Linked DNA regions of Homo sapiens: all the other regions are linked to region 1. The links are contacts of gene promoters, found by promoter capture Hi-C in human tissues and cell types (Jung and others, 2019). All regions are on one chromosome and are shown on one strand. The core of a region is centred on a gene start or on the middle of the fragment in contact, and the rest is flanking DNA. Distances in the headings are between cores, read along the strand shown. Region 1 holds the start of RAF1 (Raf-1 proto-oncogene, serine/threonine kinase). Region 2 overlaps SYN2 (synapsin II). Region 3 overlaps IQSEC1 (IQ motif and Sec7 domain ArfGEF 1).

What was found. The method cuts DNA at HindIII sites, captures the fragments that hold promoters and counts their contacts. A contact is called where the count stands out against the background at its distance.
Region 2: a contact is called between a fragment that was not itself captured here and the fragment with the promoter of RAF1 in region 1, in 1 of the 25 tissues and cell types used here (bladder).
Region 3: a contact is called between a fragment that was not itself captured here and the fragment with the promoter of RAF1 in region 1, in 1 of the 25 tissues and cell types used here (spleen).

The regions. Positions count from the first base shown.
Region 1 is chr3:12,662,444-12,666,005 of GRCh38, forward strand. It overlaps RAF1 (Raf-1 proto-oncogene, serine/threonine kinase), which reads right to left and starts at 1,674. Exons shown (of 17, transcript NM_002880.4): 1 at 1,370-1,674. RefSeq lists enhancers at 756-1,366, 1,367-1,978, 1,590-1,939, 1,980-2,049 and a silencer at 1,180-1,399. The HindIII fragment of the contact is 15,309 bases long and covers 1-3,562 here.
Region 2 is chr3:12,178,531-12,182,092 of GRCh38, forward strand. The region is part of intron 10 of SYN2 (synapsin II); the gene reads left to right. Among named protein-coding and RNA genes, the nearest start is that of TIMP4, 21 kb to the left of the region's middle. RefSeq lists an enhancer at 1-820. The HindIII fragment of the contact is 3,004 bases long and covers 429-3,432 here.
Region 3 is chr3:12,991,933-12,995,494 of GRCh38, forward strand. The region is part of intron 1 of IQSEC1 (IQ motif and Sec7 domain ArfGEF 1); the gene reads right to left. Among named protein-coding and RNA genes, the nearest start is that of IQSEC1, 80 kb to the right of the region's middle. RefSeq lists enhancers at 1-291, 1,691-2,249, 2,688-2,757, 2,809-3,367 and silencers at 1-291, 2,168-2,327, 2,348-2,397, 3,048-3,317. The HindIII fragment of the contact is 4,757 bases long and covers 1-3,562 here.

The DNA of each region.
Region 1 (3,562 bases), core at 424-2,923:
CACTATCAGCTTCAACATCAACAAAGGGAGAAAATTATCAGCAAGAATGAAGACTCGGCAACCCATGTACAATAATCCAAATTCAACTAGTTCACTATCTACAACAAAGACAGCCCCCTCACAATTCTAGCAACTTTTATTTTACTCTCATCTCTCACCATTTCCTTCCTGCACCCCAGGCAATTTGCTGCTCCCCAAACTCATCCCAACTCCCACATGGCTCTAAGCCTTTGTACCAGCTGTTCCCTGAGCTCCTCCTCACCCGATGAGCACTTACTCACAGGTGTTTCAAAACTCGACTCAGAAGTCTCCTCGAGTGTAGAAGCTTCCTCAACTCCTCCCCAAGCAAAACTAACTGTTCTAAATCCCCATAACACTTGATAAGCCAATTCTTATCACACTGCATTGTTTTCACGCCTTAGGAGCGCAGGGAGGGCAGAGTCTCTCCACTCAGCCCACAGAGGACCAGGCAAGCAGAAACGCTCAATGAACGTGCCTTGAATTCATTTTCCACTTAGATTAAGTGACCCCCTAGAACCCGTTCACATCTCAAGGATACACTAAGTTCCATTCCTTCTTCCCACCACAGAATGAATACCAGGGGCACACCCAGAGCCCTAGAACGAGAACAATGAATGAACACGGCCGCCTCGCCTCTCACGACGTCCAAACCCCTCTCTCTTGGGCATCGACTCGCTCGCAGAGCCTCAGCAGCTGCAGAGCTGAAGCGTCCCGGCGGCTCTCGCGTCACACAAAAGACAGCCCTGGCTCTTCATTCCAAAGCGTCCTGAGGCCAATCCTCTATAAGTATCCCAAACCTTTCATTAATAACCCAGAGTCCTGATACCCAAGGCTAGTCCTGATACCCAAGAAGAGGCCCCTGTGCCTTTGTGGTAGGGCACTGGCCAGTTTCCTCCTCTCTTACCCGATTCCTCACGTCGTCTCTAAAAGGGTGTCACTTGACTGAAGTACCCTGAGAAAGGGTGCAAGCCCGGGTCCCACATTCGGCGGCCCAAGAGAAAAGGAATTGGCCCATCCAAGTGACAACAGATATGGGGCAGCTCTGGGCGGATTTTCCCACTGCCAAATATGAGGAATGCGCATGGCATAAGGGTGGCGTTGGCACGTTTCCGCCAAACACAAGGAAATTTGAGTGGGATGTGGGAACTCGGCTCGCCGGCCATGACACCGGACTCCGGGGCCCCCGCCCAACGCTACCCCAGGGTGACAACGGCCTGGCCCAAGCCCTCTGCCCGGCAGCCGCGGGGCCGCTCCATCAGCGCCACCCAGGCCCGGTCGCCCTGGAAGCCGATCCCTCAGCCCCGCCGCCCGGCTCCCCCGGCATCCACGACCCGGTCCTGCCACCTACCTGAGGGAGCCAGGCCGCCCCAACGTCCTGTCGTTCGGCGGCAGCTTCTCGCCCGCTCCTCCTCCCCGCGGCGGGTGAGGGAGCGGGAGGCGGTCACATTCGGCGCGTCCCCAGCCCAGGGGACGGAGCCCCGAGCAGCCCCCGCATCGTAGCAAACGCGCTCCGCGCCTCAGGGCACGCGCCCCAAAGCCCGGCCAGCTGACCCTTTTCGGGGCCCAAAAAAGGCAGCAGAAAGCCGTTCCCGCCTCACAATCGTTTTCCTCTTACTCCCGCCATCTAAGATGGCGGCCCAAGCGCCCGCGATTAAGACTCTCGGGCGGCCCAGACGAGCGAGCCCTCGACTCGGTGCTCGTCCTCCCGACCTGCGACGCCACCGGCTCTCCGATTCTGCGCGAGCCCTACTGGCAGTCGACTTCTAACTTGGCTCGGGCATCCATCGCTCTGGCCTGAACTCAGGCCCCGCCCCCGGGGCGTGGCCTAGCGATCTGGTGGCCGCCATTTCGAAGCTGAAGAGGTTAGGCGACGCTGACTTGCTTTCAGGAGAGGCACTCGGTAATCGAGAAGAACCGGCTTTCGGCCAGCCAGGAGTGGCCAGAGGCCTAGAAGGGGAGAGGAAGGCCTGCCTGCCCAGCATTGCAAGGCCCAGCGATCACCAGACGTGCCTCAGGACACAGGGCACAGTGTCCAACTTTGACGCGTCCTCTCCGGGCACTTTAATACCAAATCACGGCTCCGCCACTTGACAGCTATGTGGACAGTCCCTGAACCTTAAACGGTCTTTTCCTTGTGTGTAAATTCCGAGTTCATTTTTCCCCCATCACATTAGCAACAAGTTAAAAAAACTGATAATATCCGGTTTGGTCCAAGGTATATTGAAACCTGTTGTGTGCCCTCGCAGCGCTATCACAGTGGAACTTGGACATGTTAAAAGTATATATCCTTCCTCCCGGCAGTTTCACTTCTAGACACTAATTCTAGAGAAATAAGTATACACATACACAAAAAGCTATGTGTGAAGATATTTAATGCCATATTATTTGCATTCTGGAGAAACACTGGGGATGAAATGAAGATTAATAGGAAACTGGTTAAGAGAACGCTGCTACACATCCAATCTGGGTTGTCATCCATCCAAGAATGAACTAGATAGTTACTGAATTTAAAAAACAACAAAAAAAGGGCCCGGCGCTTTTTTTGGGATTACTCCTGTAATCCCAGCACTTTGGAAGGCCGAGGCAGGCGGATCACCTGAGGTCGGGAGTTCGAGACCAGCCTGACCAACATGGAGAAACCCCGTCTCTACTAAAAATACAAAAATTAGCCGGGCGTGGTGGCGGGCGCCTGTAATCCCAGCTACTCAGGAGGCTGAGACAGGAGAATCGCTTGAACCCGGGAGGCAGAGGTTGCAGTGAGCCCAGATCGCACCATTACACTCCAGCCTGGGCGACAGAGCGAGACTCCGTCTCGAAAAAATAAATAAATATAAAAAAATAAAAATACCAAATTAGCTGGGCATGGTGGTGCATGCCTGTCATCCCATCTACTCGGGAGGCTAAGGCAGGAGAATTGCTTGTACCCAGGAGGCGGAGATTGCGGTGAGCCGAAATCGCGTCATTGCACTCCAGCCTGGGCAACAAGAGCGAAACTCTTGTCTCAAAAAAAAAAAAAAAAAAGACATGGCTGGGCGTGGTGGCTCACGCCTGTAATCCCAGCACTTTGGGAGGCCGAGGCGGGCAGATCACTTGAGGTCATGAGTTTGAGACCAGCCTGGCCAACATGGTGAAACCTGTCTCTGCTAAAAAATACAAAACAAATAGGCCGGGTGCGGTGGCTCACACATGTAATCCCAGCACTTTGGGAGGCCGAGGCGGGCAGATCACGAAGTCAGGAGATCGAGACCATCCTGGCTAACACAGTAAAACCCCGTCTCTACTAAAAATACAAAAGATTAGCCGGGTGTGGTGGCGGGCCCCTGTAGTCCCAGCTACTCAGGAGGCTGAGGCAGGAGAATGGCATGAACCCGGGAGGCGGAGCTTGCAGTGAGCTGAGATCGCGCCACTGCACTCCAGCCTGGACAACAGAGTGAGACTCCGCCTAAAAAAAAAAAAAAAAAAATTGGCCAGGTGTGGTGGTGCGCGTCTGTAATCCCAGCTACTCAGGAGGCTGAGGCAGGAGAATCACTTGAACCCAGTA
Region 2 (3,562 bases), core at 681-3,180, 480 kb before region 1:
ACCATTTCTGCAAGGACCTTGCTGGAACTAAGCAATATACAGAAGGCATGGTATAACCCAGACCAGAATTCCCTGCACATGAAACTGCTATGCATCAGGTGACAGGAAACCACACAACAATATCTTCTCCACTGATGCACGAAATTCTAACATTAGACCTCCCTTCCTTTGGATTGATATTTATTTTTTAAATAGTAGTAGGATGCTCACTTACATTGCCTAACACTTTACAGTTTACAAAGCACACTCTTTAGTTTAAGCCTAACAATCCTTATTTAAGATGTCTTGGGCTGGCAAATGTATCTTTGTTTCACATATCAGCAAAGAGAAGGCAACTGCCTTGCCCAAGGTCACACAGCTGCTAAGCAGGAGAGCTGGATCTTCTGGGCCCCAATTCAGGGAGTTCTCCACAATACTGTGCACCATGCCCTTTTGGTGCTCCCACATCAGCAGAGGCGAAGGTAAGAATGGAATGAGCTGGGCATTTGTGACTCTATATCTCTACGTAAGGAAAATCCTTGCATTCCTCCCTTAACAAGTGGTGGACCTACCAACCTGGAGGAGTCTTGAGCTTCACCAGCTCTCTCCTTCCTCCCTGGCTTCTCTGATCACTAAGCCCAGTAGATTCAGCGTAGCAGGATACCAGCCCAATTAGCTTTGATGGAAGCGGCACACTCTCCTTGCCAAGCTCCTGAAAGCCTATACCTGCAAGACATCTCTGCACAGGTCCAATAACCCTAGGGGTCTTGCTGAGTTTAAGACTCTGTAGCTGGTCCAGGCTGGTCTGGAACTCTGTAGCTAAGAAGGGATTGTCTCAGTTCTCACACACCGGAAGAACTGAAAGAAAAAAAAAAAAAAAAAAAAAAAGCATAAACGAATTCATGGAAGCCTAGAGCCAGAAGGGCCTGTAGAAGTCATGTGCCTGCAGCTACATGAGCCCCCCTAACCAAAGTTTGTCCAAGCACTGCTGAAATACCTCTCATGCCAGGAAGCTCACTACTACCCAAGCCAGCCCTTGACACTATTCAGATTTATATTTGACTAATTTCAATCTTCTACTAAGCCCTAGGTGCTTCCATGGTTACCTCATTTATACCATTTGGGAAACTGTGACTCAGGATAAGTAACTTGCCCAAAGTCACATGTGTAAAGTTGTCATTTCGAGACTTCTAACCATCCTATTTGCTCCATGTACCCATGTTTTTCTGCTAGCATCACCCTTAAGAGGTGGCCAGAACTGGTTGCAGTGCTCTCTCATGAGGCTTGATCAGCCAAAAGAACAGTGGTCCTATCACTTCCCCTTGTCAAGACATAGACATACCTCCAGCTGCATCCAATTTTTGGCAGCATCATTACAGACTGACACCCTTTGAGCCTGTCGTCACTCTGTAAACCCAAAGTTGGTTGGGGTTTATTATTTATTTATATATTTTTTTGAGACGGGGTCTCACTCTGTTGCCTAGGCTGGAATGCAGTGGCGTGATCCTGGCTCACTGCAGCATCCACCTCCCAGGCTCAAGCTATCCTCTTGCCACAGCCCTCTGGGTAGCTGGGACTATAAGCACATGCCACCATGCCCACCTAATTTTTGTATTTTTTGTAGAGACAGCGTTTCATCATGTTATCCAGGCTGGTCTCAAACTCCTGGGCTCAAGTGATCCACGCACCTCGGCCTCCCACAGTGTTGGGATTACAGGCGTGAGCCGCACCCAGCTGGGTTTTTTTTTTTTTATGCTACTATAAGGTCATTTATTCCCCTTCCGTTTTGTGTACAGCTAGGCACAAGCACTGCACTTCACATTCTTACCTGTTTGAATCAATCCAACTTCCTGAGGAAAGCTCTGCCTCTCAGTCTGGCCATGAGTTCCTGCTGTGGGCTGGCTCCAGGCCAGCCTTTGGCAGTGACGCCAGAGTGGCCAGACTTCTGTGGAATTCGGCATCCCAGGATGCTCTGGGTGACTGGAAACAGATCCCATGGTAGCCAAGCCCCACAGGGAATAGGCCCGGAGCCCCTAGTAGACAGCAGGCTTGTAGGTGGAGCCAGGGTGTCTCAGCCTGGCAAGGGACAGTCCTTGGGAATTCTCCTCCCCGCCTCCCGTAGCCCCTGAGAAGTCTTCCATACACAATCTCAGTGGAGCCGGGGCCAAGAGAAGCTTCCTAGGCGCCATCAAGGGTGGCCAAAGCATATTCCCAGGCTGCAGCCCAAAGGACTGCCTCCGGGAGCTCTTCCTCTCAAGCCTGGAAAAGGGCACTTCTGGGCTTAGTTCATCCGTGGGTGTCTTACATGTATATTCCTATGGCTGAGGAAAGACAAGGCCAGCCTACATGGTGTGATCACCCCTGTGAGCTCATCCTGTGTCTGGAGTTCTACCATTAAAGCTTAATCTATGGGATTTAAAACGTTTTCTTGGAATCATAGTTTCACTGGATTGGAAGGAACCTTAGCATTCATCCAGTCAATCTCATGTTTAAAAAAGGAATATTATCTATGATGTCTTTGTCAGGTCATTCACTACCCACTATGTGAACACATACGTCTACCTCCCAAAACAGCCTATCTCACTATTTTTACAAAAGAAAGTTCTACTTGTAGGTGAAAGTCTGCCCAGAGCTTTTGTGCCCACTGGCCCTGGTTCTGCTCTTATGCCACATAGTCTTCTGTAACCCTCTCTGGGAATACCAATTCTCTGGGAGGAGAACATCGTAAGCTGCTCTTGGCCAACATTTGAGATGATGCATTGGGACCCTTCAGTGGTACTGGGCATGAGGCCCTGGGGGAGAGACCAGCGAGAGCCAGTCCGGTAGCTTCACAAACTGGGACTTTTTCTGTCCTTCACCTAAGTATCTGTCTCTGACCATGAGAGGCTGTGGTGTTGAAGGCATGGGCCAGACTAGAGAATGAACAGTAGAGGATCAGGCCTGGACTGAGCAGCTGTTTATGACATAAAGGAGGGAGAAGGCTAGAAAGGGCAAGCCCAGCCATGCTGAAGCAACCAGGAGTGCTGATGATACCTCATACGGTACTGTGAGGTACAGGGAGATAGTGCACAATAGTGCATCCATGTTACTTGGAACACAGTAAGCACGCCATAAATGTCAGCTCTAGGTGATTTAGAGAAGTTAAGAGACACAACTAGAAAAAAGGTTTAGGAGGTTAATAGGTAGCCCCAGAGAAGATAGATTGGAAAGAAAAAGATGAAAGAATTAGGAGACTATTCTAGCAAGAAATGATAAAGGCCTGACCAAAGTTAGTCCAGGGAAGATGGTGACTCAGATACCAGGAGGGAAAAGTGGAGGAGTCCTGAAGGCTGATGGGATGGAGTGGTTTCCAGCTGGCTTCCCGGGTATGGGTATTGCAGTGTCAGGCTCAGACTGTGCCTTATGGATCCCAAGAAGGTCCCCAGAGGAAGGGAAAGGAAGTAGTGTTCTCACTGTGACTTGTGGGGGTTGAGGGTTATGGTAGAATGGGCACTCTGATGTGGTGGCACTGAGGACATTTCAAAGGCCCCCCTCCCAGCTGCTCTCCCAAATCCTCTCAGTAGAACAGTTCCGAGTAATGAGG
Region 3 (3,562 bases), core at 573-3,072, 330 kb after region 1:
GGCCCTTTAAGCAGCCTTGAAAGAGAGTGGCAACTCCAGTCATGAGACCCAAGATTACCTAATGTTTGCAAACCGTGCAGGAGACAGTCCCCTGCAGAGGTGAGCACAGGCCCCCTCCCTTGTCCCTCCACTGCAGAGACCTCTGAGGGGACACCGAGTCCTCCGAGCATTCCCCAGGAAGCAGCCCTCTCAGGATGACTGGGTTGCTGGAGAGCTGGGGACAGGGCCCCTCGGCTCTGAATACGCTGTGTGACCTTGGACATGTCCCTGCCTCTCTCTGGCCTCAGTTCTCCATCTCTAACACAGTAGGGTGGCTCCGGGATGCTCCCTCCGGCACTGATGCTTAATGGCTGGGCTGTGGGCATTGTGGCCACCCCAAGTCACCTCTCAGTTTATCTTTTCCTGTGGGGGGTGGGGGGTGGGAGGAGATGGCACCGCTAAGGCAATTTCTCTTCTTTCCCCTTAAATCTGGTTTCTGGGCTCTAATTGCACATGGCTTCAGCAGCCTGGCCATCTTGCCAACTGTAATGAGGAGGTGGGCATCATACTGGGGGCAGGGGAGGGTGACGAGAAAGCTATTCCTGTGTCACCTTAATTCAGAATTGTTCAGAGGGGGCTGCACAGGCCAATGTGTCCACTGCCTGGTGGAGCCTGACCACAAAATGAAACGGTGGCTCATCAAAGTGCACAACCAGACCCCTGCTCCCAGTCTAGGACAGGTCCCTCACCACCACAGATCACTGGGCATGCTCAGAGCAACACTCACAAAGCTGACCAGGCAGAGCCGACTGCTGTCCTTGTGAGCCTCATCTCCTGGACAAGGCCAGGGGGAGGGGACACCCACTGTCACCTTTCTGCTCCCTTTGCTCCAGGAACAGATCAGCTGTGACAGTTGAGAGCTTGGCAATTTAAAGTGACAACTGCCTGGCAGAAACATGGGAGGGGAAGTTCCCCAGGACTATTAGGGGTGGGGAGAAGCTTGACTCACCTCTGCCAACCCACCCTGCCTGCTTAGAGCCCAAGGGCAGGTGGTTTTGTAGCGGGAGGTTGCGGTGGGGGCGGGGGTCCCACACTCTAAGACCCTGGCCCAGGAGTGTCTCATCCTCAGGCTGGCAGGTGGGACAGGTTTCCAACAACAGCCCCCATTACACCTCATCCCCCTGCTGCCACCTGCCCCCTATGGGTCAGGGTCCAGAGGTCGCCAAGGCTGTTCTGGTCCCCAAGACTGCTCCCTAAGCCAACTCTCCTGGAGGTCTACCGGGAGAGCTCCCTCCACCCCAAGACTGAGAACCAGTCTCTTCCCCACGTGGTAATGGCAGGAGGGGCTGCCCAAGGTCACACGGGGTTGGGAGGCAGGGACAGGGCCAGGTTGGACCCAGCCCTCCAGCCCTGCCAAAGCTTCTCCCTCCCTCCCAAGGCGCGTCCGTGTGGCTCCCAGCGAATTCCTGAGATGCCTCAACCTCCCGCTCGCAGGCTCGGGACCCTGGACGCGGTGGCGGGATTTCTCCGCCCGGAGGCAGCAGCGGTGGTGGAGGCGGGGTGGGGGTGGGGAAGAGAAGCAGGGTAGTGCGGAGTCGGGGGGTGGGGAATGCTTTGCATGGCGACCCTCGGGGTCTGGATTCACGTACCCCCGCTTCGGGGAGGCAACCAACTGCACTGATGAAGAGATGGAGCACCCCGCCCCTCCCCGACCCCCAATATCGCGCCTTTAGCGTTCGCAAGGCTTCGGGATAAGCCGTCTGCATAGCCGCGGAGGTTGGGGCTTCTGCGTCCTCACCGCTCCAGTCCCAGAGAGCGACACCGCAGAGCCCAGCTCAGAAAGACTGGCGCTGGCGCGCCCCGGCCCCCATTCCCGTGAGCTTGGCGGCCGCTGATCCCCAACCCCACAACCCTGCGGCCGGTGCGGGCTTAGCAACTGCGGCCTCGCAACCTCCTTCCGAGACCCGCTCCGCGAAGCCCGCCGCGATCCCCGCGCGCCCCAGGTTCCCGAGAGCCAACTGCGTGTCGGTGCAACCGCGGCCCCGGGGGCGGAGCTGCCGCCCAGGCCGCCCCGCGGAGGGCATTCCCGGCTGCAGCCCCAGCGACCCCCGCCCGGGGCCCCGCACCGCACCGGTCGCCGGGCGCGTCCCCCGCCGGCCCGCCTCCTACCTCGCGGGTCCGCCCGCAGCCGCCGAGAGCGCGCCGTCCCCGCGGCCGGCGCGGCCCCAGAGCGTCCGGTGGCCGGGCGCGGGGGGGCGGGGGCGGGCGCTCGGGAGCCGGAGCCGGAGCCCGAGCCCGATACCAGCGCCACCGGCGGGGCGGCCTCCCCGCGCGCCGCCCTCCTGCCCGCCCCACCGCCCGTGCGCCGTGACCTTGGCGGGTGGCCTCGCCGCGCCTGGCCTCAGTTTCCCCCCTCGGAAGGTGTGTGTGCGTGCGCGGCTGTGCTAGGGGGCGGGGAGGACGGTGCCGCCCCGGCCGCCGACGTCACCCGAGCCTGGACGAGTGGAGGGCGCTCAGGTCGGTGCAGCCGCTGCAGCGGATGGGTCAGGAGAGCGGGGTACGCGGGGTCCAGGCGCGGAACCGGGGGCACTGCGACCCCCGGCATTTCCCTCAGACTACCCCAGACCCCCAATAAACAGCGAACAAACGCACCTCAGGCCAAGTCCCCCGGCTCCTCCGAGGGAAAGCTGCAGCCCCGGCCGAAACGCCCCACCCCCGCCGCCGTCCCCAGTTCGCAGATGGGAACACTGAGGCCCACAGCAGGGAAGCCACTGGCCCAGAGGCGCACAGCTGCACCACGCTCCTCCGCGTCCCCTCCAGGACACACCCTCCTGACTGTTTGGGGACGGGGTGGGGACCTGGGCCTGCCGGTGCCGCCCCCATCCCTCAGCCGACCTCGATTTAGATGCTGGGACGGGCCCTGGTGGCCTGGCGACTGTTACAGAGAATGGGGTGGGCACAATCGGAAGGGAGCCCAAAGACGGGGAAGAAGTGGCGCAGATAGCAGAGGCTGGGCCTGGAAGGGATATGGGCGGGAGCGCGCCCGCGGGGGTGCACCTAAGGAGAAAGCGAGGACGCGCGAGTGCCCTCCCTGGTGGGTCGCAGAGCAGACCTGCCCCGGAAGCCCTGAACGCCGGGCCGGGAGCGGCGGCCTCTCTCCCGCAGCCGGAACCCCGCCGGTCTGGAGCGAGGGCGTCAGGTGGCGGGCTGCGATTGGGACGAGGCGCCCCCTGGTGCCCGGAGGCGGCGAGACCGGAGACCGGAGGGACGGGGCCGCCAGGGCCCAGCCAGAGAAGCTGAGCGAGTGATGTCATGAGTCAGGAGACCCGGCTCTGTGGGTCCTGCCACGAGGGGCTGTGTGACCTTGGGCAAGACGTTTCCCCCTCTGGACTTCTGGGAGGAAAGGACAGAAGGAGGGACCCTGATTTTTACCTCTGACATCTCATGACCCTGGACATCTGGGTCAGGTGAGAATGGGCAAATGGATCCAGAAAGGCACAGACGGATCAGAAGTGAGATGTAGACACTGTTCAGCACTGGAGGAGGATTATTCATTTACTTGAGGCAGAAACTAGTATCCCAA